Regions from separate parts of the Homo sapiens genome. Here regions 2 and 3 are each linked to region 1. Evidence: promoter capture Hi-C in 16 types of primary human blood cells and fetal thymus (Javierre and others, 2016). All regions are on one chromosome and are shown on one strand. Each heading gives the region's core, a stretch centred on a gene start or on the middle of the fragment in contact. The rest is flanking DNA. Distances are from core to core; before and after follow the strand shown. Region 1 holds the start of PGRMC2 (progesterone receptor membrane component 2). Region 2 overlaps JADE1 (jade family PHD finger 1). Region 3 holds the start of JADE1 (jade family PHD finger 1).

Region 1 (3,046 bases), core at 276-2,775:
CACAACCAGGATGCACAATGTTGCTCAACTGTATGATATACCAACAGGTTCCATGAGTCTGGGGTTTATTAACATAATCCAAAATGTATGCTACAACCACACTGTAAAAAAAGGGCGTCTAAATCAACTACCCTACACAAAGTTCCCTGAAAACAAAGTTCTCTCAAAACAAAGTTCTAAAAATCTTTAACTTGCATAACTGGCACATGGGGGTATAAATCTACAACTCTTCTAAGTTTTTTCTCCTTAGTTCTGCTAAGTGAAAACACAAGTCATTATCAACGTGTACTTGAAAAGAGAAAAAAAAAGAAAAAAGAAACCAGAGACACGCCTGCTGGGTATAGGAGCTCCACCCCCAAAACTCAAGGTGAATATCCTTACCAGTCTTTAATAAGCTCTGCATTCTGGTCTGTTCTCATCCCACATACCTTGTTAATCATGGAAAGCAACTCCGAACTAAAACTGGTTTAAAGAGAGTCCGAGGTGTTGCTTATACGTCTGGACTTCAGAGACTGGAGGGTTGGGACTTTACATGCCCCTAAACGTGGCCTTACGGAGTAATACAGCGAGGGAAAAAAGGAGATCAGTGGCAAAAAAAAAAAAAAAGGGGGCAAGGAAAAGAAAACGGTGAATTACAGAGCCCAAAACTTTAGTTTAGGTCCCAACTTCAGAAATCTCCCTTCCCTGGTGCCCCATCCATCCCAGGAATCAGGAGACTCAAAAAAGGTTAAGGGCCAGCGTTGACCTGTGACAACTAAAACGATTTTGAAAAATCCAGCCAAAGAAACAAAAAAAAAAGGCTGCGAGGAGAAATGGGATGGAAGAAAGATGAATGCTGAGAGCTGGTCTCTGGGGCGCCACCGGGGACCCTGGTTTCGGGGGAAGAACTGGAGGTGCCCGTAGCTGCGGGGGGACGGTGTGTGTGTAGGGGCGGGATGGGCCGTCCCAGGTGCGGCGGCCGAGGCGCGGGGGTCCCGGAGACGAGAAGGCTGGGCAAACTAACCCGGTGCCCAGAGGCCTCCCTGTCCGAAGGGGGTTGTGCTTCAGCTGCAGGGGGTCCTTCCCCTCCCCTTCCAACTCCTCACCCGGGCCGTAGAACTTGCTGCCTTTGGTCACGTCGAAGACTTTCCCATTGACCGCGAGCAGGATGCGCGGGTTGCGGGAGCCGTCGTACTGGCGCAGCTGCTCCAAGCTGAAGTCCCGCTTCTTCATGCGAGGCAGAGAGGTGGCGGGGCTCTCCTCGCCCGCCCCGGCCCCGGCCCCCAGACCCCGCCGCCCCCAGCGCACCCACAGCCGGTAGGCCCCCAGCAGCACCAGAGCCACCAGCGCCACGTTCAGCAGCATTTCCCCGCCCCCCGTCAGAAGCGCCAACGCCGCCGCCGCCCAGCCTCCCCCTTCCGCTGCCGCTCCCGCGTCGCCTGGACTCTCGCTGCCGCCGTCGTTGCTGCTCTCGCTGCCACTCCCCAGGGTGCCTAGCTTCACGTCCCCATCACCAGCCGCCATCACTGCCCGCCAGCGCCTTCCTCCTCCTCCCCGCCCCCTGCCCTCCCCAACCCCACGGCCGGCCCCGCCCATCTGGGGGCCTCTCAGCCAATAACGTGAGAAGAGGGGGCGGGGTCAGGCCGGCTCCTGATTGGGTGTTGACGGGGTAACGTTGTCTCGGATCTCCCGCCCCCTCCCTTCTTTCGCTGGCCGCGCACGCGTGCAACGCCCCGCCCACCTCGCCCCACACTTCCCTGCTCTCACTCCAAGCCTCCGCTAGGTTAAGTAGACGAGCCGGGCGGGTCTGAAGAAAAGATGCTACGACGGCCGCGCGGACGCTCATGGGCGGGGCGAGACCACAGCGCGTGCGCGGGCTCCTGAGCGCCACGCGCTCGCCTTTCGTTCGTAACCCCTGCGGGAGGCACGCCCCGCCCAGTCTCCAGGCTCTGCGCGTGCGCCCTGGAATCGCTTCCCTTCCTAGGCCTGCGTTCGCGTCCGCAAACTCCCGCCTCCTTGCGCTCCCCCCGCCCGGGAGCTTCACGTGCGCCTTGGCGGCCGCGGGGGCAGGTCCGGGCTGGACGCCTGGCGGAGGACGCGGGCAGGTGGCTTGTGGGAGGCTGGGGCATAGTTGAGCTGCAAGGCGCAAACCGATGAGGGGCGTCTGCTTTTCACCAGGGCGCCGTCGCTTTTGTCGGGAAACCGGCAGCGTAGGCGCGCAGACCGGGAAGCGGCAAGAAGATTTGGCCACGAGCTGGGGTCTTCCTGGAACGGAGAGAAAGCACGGAACCCGCACCGGGCTTCTCTGGCATCGGCAGTCTACGTGCTCCTCGCGCTGGCACCGAGCAGCCACTCCCCGCTGGGTTTGGCAAAGGCTGCTCTTGTAGAATTTTAAAGGATTTAGAGTCTCATTATTCCTTGAATCATAACTTCTGCGGCCGTAGGGAAGTGGACAGGTTGAGGTGGTCTTTCTATTCGTCATTCACTCTTATTTGCAGGTTCTGTTTCATGTACTTGGACGTCTTTTAGCCTCTCACACCTTGAAATTCTAGTGTGAAAAAGTGACCTCTGAAGTCTCACGCACTCAACTCGTTTGACGAACTCGTTTGACGTGTTCTCTCTTGCCCTTTGTTGTCTGTTGTCTTGAGTCTCATAGAATAGGTTTGAACCTTTCACTGTCGGTTTTGTAGGAGTCACTGAGGATATTGACGAGGCAAGTGACAGGGTCGACACTCTTGTAGAGAGGCTGTATAGCAACCAGGTGTCTGAAGGATTAGAGGCTGGGGAAAGAGTGGGAAAGCAGTTAGTAGGCTAGGGTATTTGTGCGTGAGGTGAGGAGACTCAGAGCTAGGGGAGACATTAGAGCAGGGGTTGGCAAACATTTTTTGTAAAGGGCCCGATCATATTTTAAGTCTCTGCCTTAACTACTCAGCTCTACCTTGTAACGAGAAAGCAGCCATAGACAATACTTGAATGAGTGTAGCTGTCTTCAGTAAAACTATGGACATTGAATTTTTAATATAATTTCAGGTATGAAATATTCTTTTGATTTTTAAGAAAATCATTG
Region 2 (3,046 bases), core at 276-2,775, 540 kb after region 1:
TAGTTTGGAGAATAGGTGTTTAAAGCTTTCTAGGTACAAGTAGTTGAAGGGCAAACCCACAGGGCATATGGGGACTTCAGAGAGTCATAACATTATGAATCAGTAAACCTTGGCAATTGGCTATAAGGTGAGAATGGATGTGTATGAAGATGCTACCCAGAGTAATATGCTGTGTTACACATATGTTGGTAAGTACGGTGCTCTGCCCCAAACATGCCCCTTTTTCTGGCTACCTCCTCTTTGTTCTTCAGGACTCAGCTCAGTCTTACCAGCCTCCTCTGACTCTTATCCACCTTTTGTATTCCTGTAGAACTCCGCATTTACCACTGTCAGGCACAAACAGTAGTGAATTTCCGTTGTTTTCCTGTCTGCCCAACTAGGCCAGAAGCTCTGTGAGGTCAGGGTTAGTAATTTTCATCCAGCACCTCCTAATATATGAGATATTCAAATGTTTGTCGGCTGCATTATGTGCCATTATATCTTCTTGCTACTTTGGGGTGTTGTGAGTAGCCATTTTAATTGATTATTACTTATCCTACTACTGTCTAGATTAGTAATTAGCCATTGCCCTGAGAGTCAGGAAAGGTGATGATGCAGATGCTGGCTTTTAGTGGGGCAGATGTTTGCAGCATACAACCACTGTATTGTGTAGCTGAAAGATAGTAACATGTATTTTGATTTTCTGATACAGTAAGTCATCCTGGGTGAGATAAATCAGCTTGATGTCAAGGTTTAAGTACTTTAGAGCCACAGAGGAGGAAATTCTGCTGAGCACTAACCCCCATACTGTGCCAAGTTCCCTGGAGAAGCAAATACAGCACTCTCAAACCCTCATTACTCAAGATCTTCAGCGGATGAAAATGGATTTCATTAGAAAGAAAATACTATTTTTACTCTTCTTTTACTTGAATAATTTTGCTTAAGAGAGTATTTATGTGTGTTTAGGTGCATCATTGTATTTTGGCCAATGCTTGCGTTCTTTATTTAGTGACTGTTGAAGTGCTTCCTCAGGGAGTTGTGTTTGAAAGCTGGAAAGTAAGCATTTTGATTCAAAAAGATTCTTAAAAGCTACTCTGTTAGGTGAATCTAATTTTTAAATTTTTTTATAGAGATAGGGGTCTCCCTGTGTTGCCCACTCCGGTCTCAACTCCTAGGTTCAAGCAGTCCTCCTGCCCTGGCGTCCCAAAGTTCTAGGATTACACATGTGAGCCACCGCGACCAGCCTAGTACTAATTTTTTTTAGCACTCTTTTGTAATGTTGGCTTTGGGGAGCTGAAGCTGTTAGGAGTGAGTGGTCTTCTGCCTTTCCCTTTTCCCTTTTACCTCTTGCTGGATCCTGAGGGGACCCAGAGGTGCATTCTCTAGAAGGTTGGAGAGCTTACCTGTCTGCAGTTGGTGTTTTTGGCACACACAGGGCAGAGAAAACAGTTGAATAGGGAGTGGACCACTGGTGTTTCTTGGTTATGGAACCTGAGGGCTGGAGTGGGCTTACCCCAGGCCAAGTTGCAGATTGCCTGGTTATGGGTGAGTGGGGCTTTTGGAAAAGGGATGGAGTGGGTTTTAGGACTTGACTATGCCTACAGCATGAAACCCCAGCTTGTAAAGCGTGTCCATAATATAGCTCATGACCCATACTGATCAGGACTTATGTTCAGCCTTTCTCTTGGTACATCATTTTAATGGCTTTTGAAGAATCAATTGATAAACAAAAACTTTAACTGGGTGAGTTTCTCAGGAAGAAAATATAAAATATTGCAATTATAGATTAGGGACCTAAATATTTGGATGAATTGTGTAGATCCATTTTTTAAGTGTAGTATAGGAAAAACTTTTCATCTACTTTTTTAGGTTCAGTTCATGCGAGTCTGAATTAAATGACAAAAGACATTACAGGAGAAAAGGCAAACTTCACTGATGTTGATATTTTTATGTGCCAGATGTGGGTAAAGGGAAGGAGACTTCACCGAAGAGAAAAAACCCAAGAAGAGTTAGACCTGAAGGCTTATATACAATTTTAACAGAGGGTGATAAATTGTGAAGTGACTAGTCAAAGGAAAAGGGAGTTTAGGCTTTTTTGACTGCTCTTTTGTAGGCCTTTTTAGAGTGGAGCTTTGGTTTTTTAAAATTGCTTTCTTGTTCTATCACAGTGGTTCTCCACATTTTTCTTTTTTTTTCAAGACAGAATCTCACTGTGTCACATAGGCTGGAGTGCAGTGGTGTGATCTCCACTCATTCCAACCTCCGCCTCCCGGGTTTAAGTGATTCTCCTGCTTGAGCCTCCTGAGTAGCTGGGATTACAGATGCGCGCCACCACGCACGGCTAATTTTTGTATTTTTAGTAGAGGCAGGGTTTCACCGTGTTGGTCAGGCTGGTCTCGAACTGCTGACCTCGTGATCCTCCCACCTCGGCCTCCCAAAGTGCAGGGATTACAGGTATGAGCCACCACACCCAGCCCGGTTTTCCACATTTTTTTCTCCACACCATTCCTATGTGCCCCACTTCTATTGTTGTGTGTATGTGTGTGTGTGTATGTTGAGACAGGGTCTCTGTCGCCCAGGCTGGAGTGCAGTGGTGTGATCTCGGCTCACTGCAACCTCCGCCTCCTGAGTTCAAGCGATTCTCCTGCCTCAGCCTCCTAAGTAGCTGGGATTACAGACACCTGCCACCACGCCCGGCTAATTTTTATATTTTTAGTAGAGACGGAGTTTCACCATGTTGGCCAGGCTGGTCTCCAACTCCTGACCTCAAGTGATCCTCCCGTCTTTGCTTCCCAAAGTGCTGGGATTACAGGGGTGAGCCACCATGCCCAGCCACATTTGCATTGTTAACACCACATCATACATATTGTGATTCCCAATGAGGAGGAGGTTGGGATGTACTTTTCTGAGAGGGTGGATGGGTAGGTAGGTGATGGACTACCATACTTTTTCTCACTTGAAAAAGCTCCCTTTCATTTTTAGGATTCATTGAACTGACAGACCAGTGCCCTAAAGATGTCAGGTTGATCAGTAATTTTAATTTGGAAAAGCTTTTTGTATTTGTTTA
Region 3 (3,046 bases), core at 208-2,707, 520 kb after region 1:
GGAGAGGACATATACAGTACTTAGGATTTCCACTGGCTTACTTTGTTTTCTGAAAAATAACTGAAAGGCTCAATTAGTTTTGTTTTGTCGCATTTATCAGATTATAACGTTCTGGATGTGGGTCTGGATGTGGGTAGTTGGGCTGGTGTGGGATTACATGAAATCAAACCTGATATATTCAGAAAGATTCTTCCGGTGGACACATATGCCTTTTGGGTTCGATATTCAATTTTGTAATTAGTGATCACTGTTCCTATTTATTTATTTATTTATTTGAGACGGAGTTTCGCTCTTATTGCCCAGGCTGGACCACAATGGCGCATTATCGGCTCATCACAACCTCCACCTCCCGGGTTCAAGCGATTCTCCTGCCTCAGCCTCCCCAGTAGCTGGGGTTACAGGCATGTACCACCATGCCCGGCTAATTTTGTATTTTTTAGTAGAGACAGGGTTTATCCATGTTGGTCAGGCTGGTCTTGAACTCCCGACCTCAGGTGATCCGCCCACCTAGGCCTCCCAAAGTGCTGGGATTACAGGCGTGAGCCACCGCGCCCGGCCTGAATGGGAGTTTTTAATCCGTACTTTTTTCTTATTGAAGTTGAATGTCATATACCCCTCTATTTCCCTAGATGAATCCATGAAAGAAGTATGTTGCCCTCTATATGAAAAAGCAAGCTTGTCTTCTGCAGAAAATCAGTAACCACTCCTTTTTACACATAAATACCCCCAAATGAATCTCCGATGACTGATCTGATACTAGTCTGCAATTCTAGTTTTAGCATTAGGCTCACTCCTCATATTTGGGAGAAGATGTCCAATTCTGTAGTAATGTGTAACATAAAGTGGTGTCAATTTATAAATAATATCTTCTAATGAATTAATGCTCATTTGCAATGATCACTTCCATACAAATTTAGGTAAAGATGTTATTCAGAATTGGATTCTCTCTATTTAAAAATGTCATCCTAATGTGCAACTCCCTAAAACTGTTACTACAAACAACTATTTTGCCACTCAGCCTAAAAATAAAACCTTTCACCCAAATGACACATCTTAATAGCCATATTTTAATCTACGTAATTTTAAACTATTCTGAAAGAATCCATTTCTAGATGTCAGACAAGAGTTGAAACTGGGACAGCAGTTTGAAGGGGCTAATTTAAAAACCCACTTGCTTGGAGACACCTCAAGAATTTCTAGGCTCACAAGGTGGGTGAAGTAAGGAAAGAGACTAAGAGCTGAACAGTGCCGTTCTTTGCGAGCCCCCACTGGCGCAGGCTGAGCCGGCTGCGGCTAGGGCTGCGAAGAGTTAACGAGGGACCGAGCCCCAGCGCCGCGGGCTCCCCGCATGCTCCCTCCGCCCTCCCGTCCCCACCCTCTCGTTTTGGCAAGGGATTAAAGTGCTCCCCCCTGTGGCAGCAGTGACCCAGAAATGAGTTTGATTCACATAGTCCTTCCTCCATAACAAGCCAAACGCCAGACCGAGAGTGCCTCCGTGCGCGAGTGCCCGGTGTGTGCGCGCCGGCGAGAGCAGGGGCCCGCCCGGCTCCCCGCCCGCCGCGGCCCGAACTCATGCAGCTCCGAGCGAGCGAGCGGCGCCCAGCCCAGCGCCTCGGCCGAACCCCTCCGCAGCAGGTACGCGCGCGGGCCGCGGGGGGCGCGCGGGGTGGGCGCGCCGCGCGTGTGTCCGCGCGTGTCCGCGTGTGGGTCCGTGTGCGCGTCCCGGTCCCGCGGCGGCGACGGCGGCGGCGGCGGCGGCGGCTGCAGGACGAGCCGAGAGGCTCAGCCATATTTGATGGTTTTGTTGCTTTGCTCGGGAGTTCTCGGGAGTAATTTAATGCCGAAGGTCGCTGCCTAGTGGAAATAATATAATACGTCATTAATATGGCGCCAAAAGATTGGGTTCTCGATCTGTAGCGAGGAGGGAGGGAGGCAGCCGCTGAGCGCAGCGTTACTATCCCACCAGTAACTTGGGCATTGCCGGGGCGGGGGCCGGAGGAGGAGGAGAGGATGATTTTTGGATCCTGAGAATTGATCTATGTTGGATCAGTAAGTTTTATTATGATTTTTTTTTTCAAATTTGGGGGGCTGAAGACTTAGAGCTATTTCTTCTTTTGGATTTGCGAAGAACATGCGGTTTTCAGGTGAATCATCAATTAAACGCGTTTAGGAGCAGAAGCCCAGTTTAAGTTGGCTTTAGTTTATAGGTTTTTTTTTTTTTTTTTTTTTTTTAGAAAGCCAAAGTGCATTAGGCTGCATGAAAGTGGAAAGCATAGTAGCAACTTGGTAGACAGATGGCAATGGCAGAACGCAGGTTCGCGTACATATATGAATCCAGAGTGTGTGAGACCGTGTGTGTGGTGGGACTGTATTTGTCCAAACATAGGTGTGCGTAGGTACATCTGTGTGTGGTGGCCGCAGCCCTGGCTCTTGTCACCGCGTCACCACATGTCCAAAATATTCATTGCATCAATTCAAGGGCAGTGAGAGGGGGGTGGGGGTGGGGGTGGAGGGACAGTTTGGCAATTAGATTCTTCCGAACTGGGCTTCCAGTGATCAGATCTTTTACTTACAGCGCGACTGCTTGTAAAGTGTAAAACCCCTTAATCGATGAAATGGGGTAGGAGTTGGCGTTGGTAGAGCAAAGTACCGATTAATCGTGAACTTAAAGGGGATTGCAAATTGCAACCTTTGGCACCATCTGCAAATTGTGGGGGTGGGGTCTCTTGGTCTCCTTGCTTCCTTAAATGAACGTGTAGTGTGTACCCCGGGACTGCAAGTTGCAGAGCCCTTCAGTGCACGTGTCTTGTGCCTGTGAGTCTGTGTTTGCGAGTTGGGGGCTGTTGTTCGGTAGCCAGCAGGCTTTCCGGGTTGCTCGGCATTGGCTTGCAAATGCGGGAGAGGGATGGAATGTGGAATGTTGACCGGGGAACCGAATCCTGTCGGAACGGTCCCATTTGCTGGAGAAATTCGATCCCTTCCACCTCCTTCCCGCTCCCCCCCGCCCGCCTTCGGGCAGGAGGCGGGGCTGAGGACGCGGCTGCTG

The links. The method cuts DNA at HindIII sites, captures the fragments that hold promoters and counts their contacts. A CHiCAGO score of 5 or more calls a contact.
Region 2: a fragment that was not itself captured here is called in contact with the fragment with the promoter of PGRMC2 in region 1 in 17 of 17 cell types (total B cells, fetal thymus, naive B cells and 14 more); the score reaches 14.0 in total B cells.
Region 3: a contact is called between the fragment with the promoter of JADE1 here and the fragment with the promoter of PGRMC2 in region 1, in 17 of 17 cell types (naive CD4 T cells, fetal thymus, M1 macrophages and 14 more). The highest score is 25.4, in naive CD4 T cells.

The regions. Positions count from the first base shown.
Region 1 is chr4:128,286,288-128,289,333 of GRCh38, forward strand. It overlaps PGRMC2 (progesterone receptor membrane component 2), which reads right to left and starts at 1,526. Exons shown (of 3, transcript NM_006320.6): 1 at 1,086-1,526. The coding sequence starts at 1,503. RefSeq lists silencers at 1,166-1,225, 1,406-1,455, 1,466-1,645, 1,966-2,155, 2,527-2,821. The HindIII fragment of the contact is 4,970 bases long and covers 1-3,046 here.
Region 2 is chr4:128,827,721-128,830,766 of GRCh38, forward strand. The region is part of intron 1 of JADE1 (jade family PHD finger 1); the gene reads left to right. Among named protein-coding and RNA genes, the nearest start is that of JADE1, 20 kb to the left of the region's middle. The HindIII fragment of the contact is 3,004 bases long and covers 24-3,027 here.
Region 3 is chr4:128,808,243-128,811,288 of GRCh38, forward strand. JADE1 (jade family PHD finger 1) reads left to right here and starts at 1,458. Exons shown (of 11, transcript NM_199320.4): 1 at 1,458-1,635. RefSeq lists silencers at 1,281-1,760, 2,271-2,390, 3,021-3,046 and an enhancer at 1,861-1,970. The HindIII fragment of the contact is 6,052 bases long and covers 674-3,046 here.